Linked DNA regions of Homo sapiens: all the other regions are linked to region 1. The links are contacts of gene promoters, found by promoter capture Hi-C in human tissues and cell types (Jung and others, 2019). All regions are on one chromosome and are shown on one strand. The core of a region is centred on a gene start or on the middle of the fragment in contact, and the rest is flanking DNA. Distances in the headings are between cores, read along the strand shown. Region 1 holds the start of GSG1L (GSG1 like). Region 2 overlaps XPO6 (exportin 6). Region 3 overlaps XPO6 (exportin 6).

Region 1 (3,833 bases), core at 540-3,039:
CGGGAGGCTGAAGTATGAGAATCGCTTGAACCCAGAAGGCGGAGGTTGCAGTGAGCTGAGATTGCACCACTGCACTCCAGCCTGGGCGACAGAGTGAGACTCCATCTCAAAAAAAAAAAAAAAAAAAAGATGCTACTGGATTCTTTACAGCTGTTTGGCGATGATGTATTTTCTCTGTCAACCAATACTCTCAATGCCACCATTATCACATGGAGGTCCTCTCTTTCAAAATAGTTGAGAATCTCTTGCACAGTGCCAGAAAAGGGCTCTAAAAGCAAGTTTGGAGACCCTTGGCCATCCTTCGTGCCTGCTCTTACCAGGGACGTTGCCCACAACGTTTTCCTCTCACCTACCCCCCGGCAGATTAGCAGCAGCTGACAGTGGGTGCCGGCTCACCCACAGGAGTAAGGCAATTCATAATCGGTTAACCTTGAATTCTGCAAGGCCTGCCACTCGGCAAGCCGGGGGTTGTCGGAGCAGTTCTCAGCTTGGGCAGAATTCAAATGAGCTCTTATAATCAACATGCAATTAATTGTTGCACGCCCTGAGCATCTGGGCAGTAAGTGCTGTGCAGCGCGAAGGGAGTTCAGGGAGCGTGGTCATCTTAGAGCAGAGGTGGGGACGGGGTTGCACACAGTTTCCACGTTGCACAGGAGAGCCTGAAGAGGTTTGTCTGAGTTTGGTCAACTGATCTTGGTTCAGATGTCAGTAACAGTGAATTATTAATTGAGTCTACTGTGTGCCAAATGCTTTTTGCAGCCATGATCTCATTACAGCAGCCCACTGTGATATACCTTGAAGGGGGGGGGGTCCTCCCTTTTTTATAGTTATGGAAATTGAGGCTCAGAGAGGGTAAGTGACCTGTTCAAAGCCACACAGCTGGTCAAGCCCTAGATATGCTTGATCCCAAAGTCAGTATGTTTGGCCACCCTGCCCCCACCCGAATCTTGAAGATTCTACCCACATTCACATGGTGTGCATGTGAGCAGGGTTGGCAGCCCCTGTAGGGCACCACTGCCTGGTAGCTGCAATAACTTTGTGGCCGGCATGGGCCCTCCTAGGGTTCTGCTGTTTGGGATCTCAGGTGGGTGCAGTGGGCTGTCTGGGGTACCCTGTTGCCACTCTTCCTGCAGTTGCATGCCATGGTTGGGAGCCCAGATGACAGTTTCATCCTTGGAGGGGAGCTCTTCCCAGATGCTGGAGGTGACACCCAGGAGACAGAAAAACGTTTCAAACCCTATAACCCAATACTCCAGGAGGGGCGCCTCCTGACAGATTCTGCCACTCCAAGTCCAGCATGGGTTGTCTTATCCAGGGGGTCTTGCAGCTCCCTGGCTGTGGGAAGCCCTGCAGGCTCTGCTGTTTAGAACCTTTGGAAAAACTCCTTTCTCAGGGTCTGGTGCGGGGGTCCTTTTGGGGATCCCCTTCTGGGACAGGGTCCTGCTGGTCCGTGTCCCTCTTGGGGAGCCCCAGCAGGCTCTGCCCTTGTCTCCTGGGGCAGGGCCTCTCTGGGTCTCATGAGATGCCCGCTCCCGGCGGGTTTTGTTGCCCCACGTCCGCCGTGGGGATCTTTTCTCAGGAGCGCCTTGCCTGGGATTCTCCTTGCGTCTCAGACCCTCACCCTGGCTCGGATTTCTTTCGGGGGCGTCCCTCCACTCCCAGGCCCCCGCCCGCGCCCGGCGTGGCGGCCCCCTCTCCCCGTGCGGGCGGGCTCCGGAACAGTGTCGCCGGCCGCCTGCAGGTGTCTCCCCACGGAGGGGCGCGCGTCCCTGCGCCGTGGCCGCTGCCAGGCGCCAGCGGCTCCTAGCCGAGGTGCACTCGCGCTCCGGGCTCCGGGCGCGCCGTAGCCGCTCCTCCACCGCCGCCCGCCCCGCCAGCCCGCCCCGCACGCCCCCCGCGCCGCGCCCCCACCCCGGGGTTGGGGGGGGCATGGGCCCGCGCCGCGTCCGCCGCCGCCGATCTCAGGCACCCGAGCCCCGGGGCGCGGCGGGCAGCGGCCGCTGACGCGGGGCGCCAGCTGCCAACTTCGCGCGCGGAGCTCCCCGGCGGTGCAGTCCCGTCCCGGCGGCGCGGGCGGCATGAAGACTAGCCGCCGCGGCCGAGCGCTCCTGGCCGTGGCCCTGAACCTGCTGGCGCTGCTGTTCGCCACCACCGCTTTCCTCACCACGCACTGGTGCCAGGGCACGCAGCGGGTCCCCAAGCCGGGCTGCGGCCAGGGCGGGCGCGCCAACTGCCCCAACTCGGGCGCCAACGCCACGGCCAACGGCACCGCCGCCCCCGCCGCCGCCGCCGCCGCCGCCACCGCCTCGGGGAACGGCCCCCCTGGCGGCGCGCTCTACAGCTGGGAGACCGGCGACGACCGCTTCCTCTTCAGGAATTTCCACACCGGCATCTGGTACTCGTGCGAGGAGGAGCTCAGCGGGCTTGGTGAGTGCGCGCGGGCGGCGGCCAGCTCGGCTCCGGCTCCCCCGGGGCGGCGCGGCCATCGAGGCCCGAGCCCCGGACCCGTTCGCCCTCCTCCCGCCGCCTGGGCCCAGCTCCCAGCGCTCCGCCTGGCTAGGGGCGACGTTCCGGGGCAGGGGGCGCGCGCCGTTCCGGGGCCGGGGACCAGCATGGGGGGACGTGCGGGACGCCCCGCCGTGGAGAGGTGCAAGGCAGAGCTCCTACCCGCTGCGGACGCCCCGCGGCTTTGGGGACGCTCCCGCGCCCCGGGAAGGCGCCCACCCCCGCTGCCGGTCGGAGGGGCGCGCGCTGCTTTCCGCTCCTGAACTCATCTCCACGCTCGCCCCCTCCTCCTCTTCCTTTCGCGGGGCACTAGATGCCCCCACCCACCCCGGAACGCCCCTGGGGGTGGGGGTGATGCAGGGACTCCTGCTACCAGCCGCCCCTCCTGCCGCAGATCCACAGACCCGGGAGCCTTCCACCCCCATCGCCAACCCACGCCGAACCTCCCAGACGGGAGTGGGGAGTGGGGGAGTCCCGCGGGCTCCCGGAAAGCCGCACCCGCCCAGAGGCACCCCTATTGCCAGACGCCAGGGAGCCCTCTGTATCCTGGCCCCCTCCTGGGAGAGGCAGGCTAGGGAACTGGGGACAGCTGGGCAAACTCCGGGTCGAGGAGTCCAGGAGGGCTTAGCTTAGCACAAGGCTCCTATTAGGTTCGGTGGGGGACTGACTTTTCAGAAGGCAGATCAGACTGTCCCCTTTGCCTGGACCCCCTCCTCTACCCTCCAGAGGCAGCCTGGGCTGGAGTGCGTGTTTTGGAGGCAGACAGCCGGGCTGTGGCAGGGCCCAGGGGACAGCTGCCGGACAGCTGGTTGTGCCACACAGCAGGTAGAGCTGGCCCGAAAGACGTGGTATCTCTGAGCGGGTGTCCAGGCATGGACACCCTCCTGAGTGAATTGACCTCTTTCTCCAAGGTTAAAACTCCTCCCTGCATGCCTAGCTCCTCAGTGTGGACACCACACATATGTGTGTGCTCAAGGGTGGGTTACAGCAGACCTCCACCCTTAGTTTGCCCTAAATAAGCCAGTGGCCTAAGTGGTTTAGAGGGCAGAGGGAGGAAGCTGTGAAGCGAACCCAGTGAAAAGCTCCAGGCCTCTGCACAGGCTGCATCCTCTGTCTGGAATGCCCTTCCCCGCCCCACCTCCTTCTTCAGGGGCTCCTTTCACTGGGACTCTCCCACCTGCCTTCCATGTCAGGATACTGAGGAGGGACAACCTTGTGAGCTCCCCGTTGGAGGGAGGGTCTCCATCTTTGGATCTCACCACTGCGTTTATCTCCCTGCCACACTTGGCACTCCCTGACATTTTCTGGGGCCTGTTTTTGGTCACTAG
Region 2 (3,833 bases), core at 749-3,248, 83 kb before region 1:
TTCCTTTTGTTTTTTTTTTTTTTTATTTTCTTTTTTTTTGGAGACAGAGTTTCACTCTTGTCGCCCACGCTGGAGTGCGATGGTGCGATCTTGACTTACTGCAACCTCTGCCTCCTGGGTTCAAGCAGTTCTACCTCTCAGCCTCCTGAGTAGCTGGGATTACAGGCAAGCACCATCCCACCCGGCTAATTTTTTGTATTTTTAGTAGAGATAGGGTTTCACCGTGTTGACCAGGCTGGTCTCGAATTCCTGACCTTAGGTGATCCACTTGACTCAGCCTCCCAAAGTGCTGGGATTACAGGTGTGAACCACCGTGCCTGGCCAAGATCCACTTTCTAGTTCTGATTTTGTTCCTTAATTGTCTTGTTACCTTGGGCAAGATACGACTGGACTTGACTTTTGAGCCTTGGTTTCTTTATCTGTAAAAGGGGAAGATGCAAAATATTTGTTCACTTTCCAAGACTTATGAAGATCACATAGACCAATGCAAATGAAAACTAAACACTGTAAACCACTTGGAAGATAGAATGGTATCATTAGTTTCTTAAAGAAACCTGGATTTGTAGCCCTGGAATCTGAAAAGTAAATTGGGGTCTAGGTCCATTTTAAAAATGGGTCTGTGAAGGTTTTGAAAAGTTAGGCGACTTCAAAAATGGAGCCAGCCCATCATCTTGATGACCGGAATGAACCATGTCCACAGCAACTATCAGAGGCCAGGTCATGGGCGGCCTGTGGGCAGTGCACAAGCCCTCGCAGTGGGGCCTGCAGGAATGGATGTGAAAGGTGGTGCTTCAGGTTATACAGGGTGTGTCTGCTCACCTTTCCCCCAGCCTTGAGCATATAGCAAGTCCTCAATTCACATGCATGAAGTTTATATGTATAATTATAAAGTACTTTGACGGAGCCATAATACTTGGATTTATGTGGTAACCTTTCCCAAAGGCACTTCCATATGCATCTGATGAGCTGTGCTCTTTTGAGGGGGCTAGTGGATAGTTTTGAACCAAGGAGGGATAACCTTGGTGATTGACTTGAGGGAAGCTCAGCAAGTTGAACCTAGGACAAGAGTGTGTCTCTTGGATGGGCAAGTCTAGTGGCCTGTCCAAGGACTACTCATATCATTTCTTCTTTTTTTTTGAGACAGGGTCTTGCTCTGTTGTCCAGGCTGGAGTGCAGTGGCACGATCTCAGCTCACTGCAACCTCCGCCTCCTGGATTCAAGCGATTTTCCTGTTAAGCCTCCCGAGTAGCTGGGATCACAGGCGTGCATCGCCATGCTCGGCTAATTTTTGTATTTTTAGTAGAGAAAGGGTTTACACCATGTTGGCCAGGGTGGTCTCAAACTCCTGACCTCAAGAGATCCACCCGCCTGGGCCTCCCAAAGTGTTGGGATTACAGATGTGAGCCACTCGGTCTGGCTGCCGTATCATTTCCATGTGGCTTATTCATTGTTTTTCCTGGTTATTCTCCTGGTTCACTTCATGTCGTGGATATTGTCAGTATTGCCAAGTATGAGGTAGAGACAGGACTTGGTCATTTTGTTTTCTGAGGTTGGTCCTGTCTAGTTCCAGAGCTACCCTTTGGGTCGTGAAGTTGGAATTTGCCTGGCTTTTTAAGTTACACTCTTTTCTTTTTTCTTTCTTTTTCTTCCTTTCCTTTCCTATTTTAATTTTTTTTCTAAAATATACACACCGAGTCTCACTATGTTGCCCAGGCTGGTCTCGAACTCCTGGTCTCAAGCAGTCCACCTGCCGTGGCCTCTCATAATGCTGGAATTACAGGCATGAGCCACCACGCCCAGCCAAGTTACACTTATTCTGTCTCAGACTTCAGCTTAGGTACAGAACTCCCACTGGATACCACCACCCATTGTTAGTTATTTCTTGGGCACCTCCATGTATGCCCTTGTAAACGTCTAGATTTCCATGTGGATCAGCAATGGAAAGAAACTGATCCAAGAAGGTCATGTTATTATTTATTTTCATATTTGATCTTGTCACCAAATATGTGGTCCAGTGAGACAGCCACCAGCAAAACCAAAGGAGTCTTTCAGGTAGTGAGCATTTGAGTGGAGATATCAGGGTTTGGAGCCACAAGTTGAACCTGAATGCATAGGGGAAGGAGTAGCTGTTGGAGATTGTGTTGCCTGGACTTTGCATGAAATAGAGTCTCAGAGCCCTTGAGAAAGTTAACTAGTGCAGTGGTCTTCATTGTACTACTAGGATCCTACAAAGACTTCTCACTTTGTTCCTCCACATCAGCACCTGGTTGGAGGTTGCTATTAGCACGTTTGACACCCTTGCTTTTGCAAATGGGATAATGCCCTGAGGGTCAGACTTAATGAGCTCATTTTCAGTCTGTTCTGTAGGAAGACTGCAAGTGTTACTTTCCTTACATTCAAATGTGTGAACCTGTCACCTTTGGAGCCACTGAAACTGATTTTTGCTTTCGTAATGGTTTGTAATGGAAAGAGCATTGGCTGGGGGTAAAGGGACTTGTTTTTACCTCTGGCCTTGAACAACTTATATCTCTGAATCTCGATTTCTCTCTGGAAAATAGATTTAAACTAGATGATCTGTAAGAGCCCTCTCTACCAGTCTCAGATTTTAAGATAGGTTTTTGCTTGACTTATTTTATAACTCAGTTTATGCTGCACAGTATCTCCCTCATGATGTGTTCCATGGTACCCTTGTCTTGTAAGGTTCAGGAGGGCCCAATGGTATAGACCGACTAAAAGCCACCAGTTTTGGTTACCAGGAAACTGGGGAATCTAGGCTTATGATTTCATCATTCTGCTGGAATTAAACACTGGCATGTGTGTGTTTCTAAGGAATAGTAGCATTAAATAATTTCATTGTCTGGATTTTTTTTGTACCATAGCCTACTCATGAAGGTTACTTCTCTTGTTTGGATATCTGGACGCTGTTTTTGGACTATCTGACAAGTAAAATTAAAAGTCGTCTTGGAGACAAGGAAGCAGTTCTCAACAGGTAAACTCCTCAAACACTGAAAACTAGATATGGTCATTTTGCCAGTTATTCTAGTGGCCTAAGAGACAGCCATGCATTTGGACCTTTTCAGTGAAGCTGAGTCATGTAAGCTGTTTAGGCAATAATGCCATTGAGCATTTCCTTTTTTTTCTCCTTTAAGTATTTTGTTAAGACTTTTTAAAATTTTAAAAGTAATATGTATTACTAATTTTTTATATTTTAGTGCATTTGTGTTAATGTTCTTAATTTTTTAATAGCCCTTATTTTAGAGATACAAACTGAAGTATTTATTGGATAAAATGATATGACATCTGGGATTTGCTTAAATAACCCAGTGGGGGTAGAAGGGAAGTGGGTTCCTGTAGAGAAGAAACAGGCTGCCCATGTGTTGGTGATTGATGTTGGAGTTAGTTCCTAGGAACTTGGGGTTCATTATGTTCTTACCCCATTTGTATGTGTTTGAAAATTTCCTAAATAAATTAATAAATACCTGTTAAGAAAAAGGTGTTCATTTTTAAATCTAGGAAAAGATATAGGAAAATGTAAGGAAGATAAACATAATCCCACACCCCAGAGATAATTGCTTTTGCACTTTTTGTTGTATTTTTAAAAAACAGAGAATGCGGAATGGTTTGTTTCCCCCCCCATATGTTTCTCAAACCCATTTTTCTTGCTTGCAGGAAGAGAGTATATTTCCTGTACAATATGTTCTTTGTGCCACAGGGTGGGGAGAAGAGGAGGGGAAGGTGGAGATTCAGCATGCCAGGAAAATAATGGCAGCATCCATATATGGGGAAAGTAAATGTGGCAGCTTTTCTTAGCAGAAACATACCCATCATAGTCT
Region 3 (3,833 bases), core at 594-3,093, 66 kb before region 1:
ACCACTCTCACTGCCCTTCCTTCTTCCCAGCATGCTTCTTATGGGATCTGTCCCGGCTCTGGTGCGCAGCCCCTGTGTTGGGTAACTGTTGTTTCAGCCCAGCACAGAGCCGCCCAGTGTGCAGCCCATCTCCTGGATGAGCTTGTGATTCATGGCAGAGCCTCCACAGGAGCCTTTTTCCGAGGCTGTCCTTGGTGGTCTGTGACGGCTGGTTTCCATGACTATATAAGCTTCTAAATAATCTAGTGGGCCCCAGGAGGCTGATGGGCCTTGGCATGCCCCGAATGTAGGCCCTGACTTTGTAGATAGGGTAAGAAATTTAAAAAGACAAAACTTTAAAAAGACACTTTCAAAACAAACATGCTTATAAAATGTGCTGTCACCACTAATGAAAATCATTTGGCTGTGTAGAAGTGCTACAGATGTTTCCAGAAGCCATTTTTGGGAATAATCGTGCCCAGGTGGTCTTTCCTTCAGGACCACTATTCAAATTAGAATGTACTCAGGACCCTGAAGACACTGTTCTTGATCTATTAAAAAAATCAAGCAGGTGTTCTTTCCTCCCCCACACTGACCCTTCAGTGTCCTGTTTACTTTTGTAAAAGCTGGTGTTTTTACATTCTGTTGTGTCTGTCTTTAGGTGAAAGTCTAGTGAATCTGAAACTCTATTTCTGGGACATAGCTGATAATTCTGAGCTCTTCTCCCTAGAAGGATAATGTGATTTATTTTTTCCTATAGGAAATACCGCATACTTGCTTTCACTAAAGCCTGTTTACTGGCAATTTCACAGAACTCGGCTCGTCCGGATCATTTATAAATCTCATCCTCAGCACTGATCCTTGGCTTGTACTCCAGTGGCAAAACCTCCCAGGCCAGAAAAATGCTTATTTCCTGCTTTAAAACGAGCTCTCTCATCCATGACAAAGCATTCCCCAATTTTTGGTGGCTCAGAAGCCAAGTTTCCAGTGCAAAGGCTATTAACAAATGGAAACTCTGAGTACATTTTTTCCCCTGGTTCCCATAGCCATTTACCCCCTCAAATAACCTCCATGCCACACCAGTCAGTCAGCCTCATGACCCTCAGCAGAAACTGTGCCCTCTCATCCCTGATAGGCTCTGGGCCTTCCTTCATTTGCATTTACTTTCTAGCCCAGCCTTTAGTTCTTGGGTCTCCTCTGGAGCCTGTGTAAATGGGCGCCAGCCGCGATTCTTGTCTACTCCTGGTGCTGTGACCGTGTATGACAATGGGATGCACATTTTGGCCAGCAGTGAGGCCTGCAGTGTGGTTACCCAGCCTGGAAGGCTCCCACTTTTGCTTTTGTCAGAGCAGTTGGATTCAGAAGATCTCGTGCTTCTCACTGTTTCCCTTCCTGCTGCTGAGCCTGCCTCCACTTCCCTGTCAAGACCAAGGCACAGCTTGTCTTGCTGGGCCACGTTGGTTGCTCTGTGCTGCTCTGGCTCCTGGCAGGTCATCCTTTGCTCCCTCTGTCTTTTCTACCTTATGTGGGTTAAGAAACCCTCATTGGTGGTGTTCCCCTTGCACAGCATTGACATCCGTATGTGACCCCAAAGCCTCCATTCTGTATTTGACTTCTGCCACCCCTCATTGGCATCTTCCTTCATTGAGACAGTATTTCTCCTCTAAGTAACCCTTTAACTTTTCTGGTTACCCATGCAAACTTTCCTGTGTAAGGGATTATTTTGCCTACAACATTTTATGTAAGATTTTTAGACTTAAATTGTTTGTTCTGCTTGGGTCCGTTTATGATTTATGATTATGATTTGTTCTCTCAGAGGGAAATGCCTGAATGCTAATTTTTAGACCTCCCTCAACTCCTCAAAAAGAGAAGACTAAATTATGTTTAAGACTTTTTTTTCCCCTAGGGCAGTGAATTGCCAAGGAGCTGTTCTTTGGATGTGGCTTAGGTCATACCTAGACAGCTTTAGAATGACTTGGTTTGTGGAAGATAGGACTTTTGTGTGGCCATGATGTTTTGTGCCTCCAAACCTTTCAGCATTATTCTCATCTGAAGGTTCTACCTTGCAGATGTCCTGTGCTTTTGGGGGGAAATCTAAGCCTTGACCAGACAGAAGAAAGTGTGGGTGGATCTGAACAGCTTTTCACAGTGGGACACTGGCCTATCCCCTCAAGTTTACTTGATGCCCTGCGTGACTTTTGTGGTGGTGAAATTAGGTTTATAGGCTGAAGGAGGGGGTGTCAAGGGTAGAGAATTTGATTTGGGGTATTTATTGCCCATGCGATTGTCTGCCTTGCAGATAGAACAGGAAAGAACCAGCTGTACTTTTGATGAACATGGATCTTAGATACACATATGTGTGAAGTGGAACTGTATGGAATTGCAGTTTTGTTGGGTCAGAAGTGATCAAGTGTCAACAGTTTCATATTGTTCAAACTCACAGTTTAAAACACACACCCAGCACTTCCAAGCTGTTTTCCATCCTGGGTACTGGATGCTAGGTACCCATAGTTGTCATCCTAGGTACTGCTCTTTGCTAGACAAAATAGGACAAGTTCAGAGGGGAGGGATCAGGATGGCAAGGATTCTCAGGAGGGTAATGAGGGGTTACATCCCCAGGGCTATCATGCTGTCAGCAGGCTTTGGCTTGTTCTGTGTTCTACCCTCAAGGAGTGGGCCAGGGGTGATGAGCAATCACAGGGAGATTTACTTTACCCGTGTTTGTGACCAAGTTGTCCAGAGATGGAAGGGCTCCCTTGAGCTCCCTAGCATTCAGCCGAGGTCCAGGAAGAGGCTGAAGGGCCGGGTGTGCAGGGGAAGTGCTGGGCAGAGGGGACGGCTTGGTCAGGGCGACTTTTAAGCTCTCTAGTAATTGTCTATTAAGGACCATACTCAAATGGAAACTTGATTTAGGGTAGTGTTTTGGTTTGGTTTTTAAAACAAATACAGTGTTCCCCTTGTACACTTAAAATACTTAAGAAGCTTGTTCTCAGGTATTCAGCAGGTACCTAGTTGAAGGAATTGGATACTATAGAGAAGTTGGAAACTGGTGGTCAGGGTAGAGCCTGGGGGGAGGTGGAGGTGCGAAATGAAGGTTGAGCATGTGGAGAGTGCCAGGGACTGCTGAAGCGGACTCAGTGACCCCCAGTGTTGCTCTGAGAAAGAAAAGCTGGCCTCCCCTCTTTTTGGGCCTGTACTATGCTATACCCAGTGTCAGGGTGTATTTTTCATTAGAGTTTATTCCCACAGAGCCCTGAGGTCTGGTTGGTGTGCAGAGGAGGAGCAGGTTTTAGAAGTCAACCCTGGGAGTTGGTTGCATAGATATAACCTTGAAAATCCCATTGACATTCAGAGGGTGTATAATTTTGGCACTTCAGTTAACTGAGAGATTGGGGCTGTCTCTTTTTGTAGCCCATGAAGTCTGTGTTCCCTTTCGTACAACCAGTGTGATGAAAATCCCTCTCAGTTCATTGGTTCCGTGAGTTCGTCTGGCTGGGTGGGATGGTCATTCTGTTGCTGTGGTTGGAGGAGCTGGCTTACTCATTAGCTGCACCCACAGCCTCTTCAGGGCTGCCATCTTGTTTCTGCGCCAGGGCACTGCTGTCCTTGTGGAGTGGAGGAGGCAGGACCAGGTGATTTGGGACAGGTCAAAACCAGCCTTTGTCACTGGCCCTCTCTGTCTGAGGTCCTTCCATGAGTTACCTCTTCTTTCGTTCTCCTGCTCCTTAAGATGTGGCCCTCTGTCCCCTCTTCCAGCCTCGTGTCTTCCTTTGGGGGCTGTCGCAGGCACTGTTGCGAGCCTCATCCCTTGACGTTGGTGGCGGATCGAGGCATTCAGCCTGCTACTTCATTTG

What was found. The method cuts DNA at HindIII sites, captures the fragments that hold promoters and counts their contacts. A contact is called where the count stands out against the background at its distance.
Region 2: a contact is called between a fragment that was not itself captured here and the fragment with the promoter of GSG1L in region 1, in 2 of the 25 tissues and cell types used here (liver and spleen).
Region 3: a contact is called between a fragment that was not itself captured here and the fragment with the promoter of GSG1L in region 1, in 2 of the 25 tissues and cell types used here (dorsolateral prefrontal cortex and spleen).

What each region holds. Positions count from the first base shown.
Region 1 is chr16:28,061,670-28,065,502 of GRCh38, reverse strand. It overlaps GSG1L (GSG1 like), which reads left to right and starts at 1,789. Exons shown (of 7, transcript NM_001109763.2): 1 at 1,789-2,427. The coding sequence starts at 2,079. The HindIII fragment of the contact is 12,466 bases long and covers 1-3,833 here.
Region 2 is chr16:28,145,250-28,149,082 of GRCh38, reverse strand. XPO6 (exportin 6) reads left to right here. Exons shown (of 24, transcript NM_015171.4): 9 at 2,880-2,989. Among named protein-coding and RNA genes, the nearest start is that of XPO6, 65 kb to the left of the region's middle. RefSeq lists an enhancer at 1,999-2,514. The HindIII fragment of the contact is 5,335 bases long and covers 1-3,833 here.
Region 3 is chr16:28,127,648-28,131,480 of GRCh38, reverse strand. All of the region lies in intron 12 of XPO6 (exportin 6), which reads left to right. Among named protein-coding and RNA genes, the nearest start is that of GSG1L, 66 kb to the right of the region's middle. The HindIII fragment of the contact is 4,971 bases long and covers 1-3,833 here.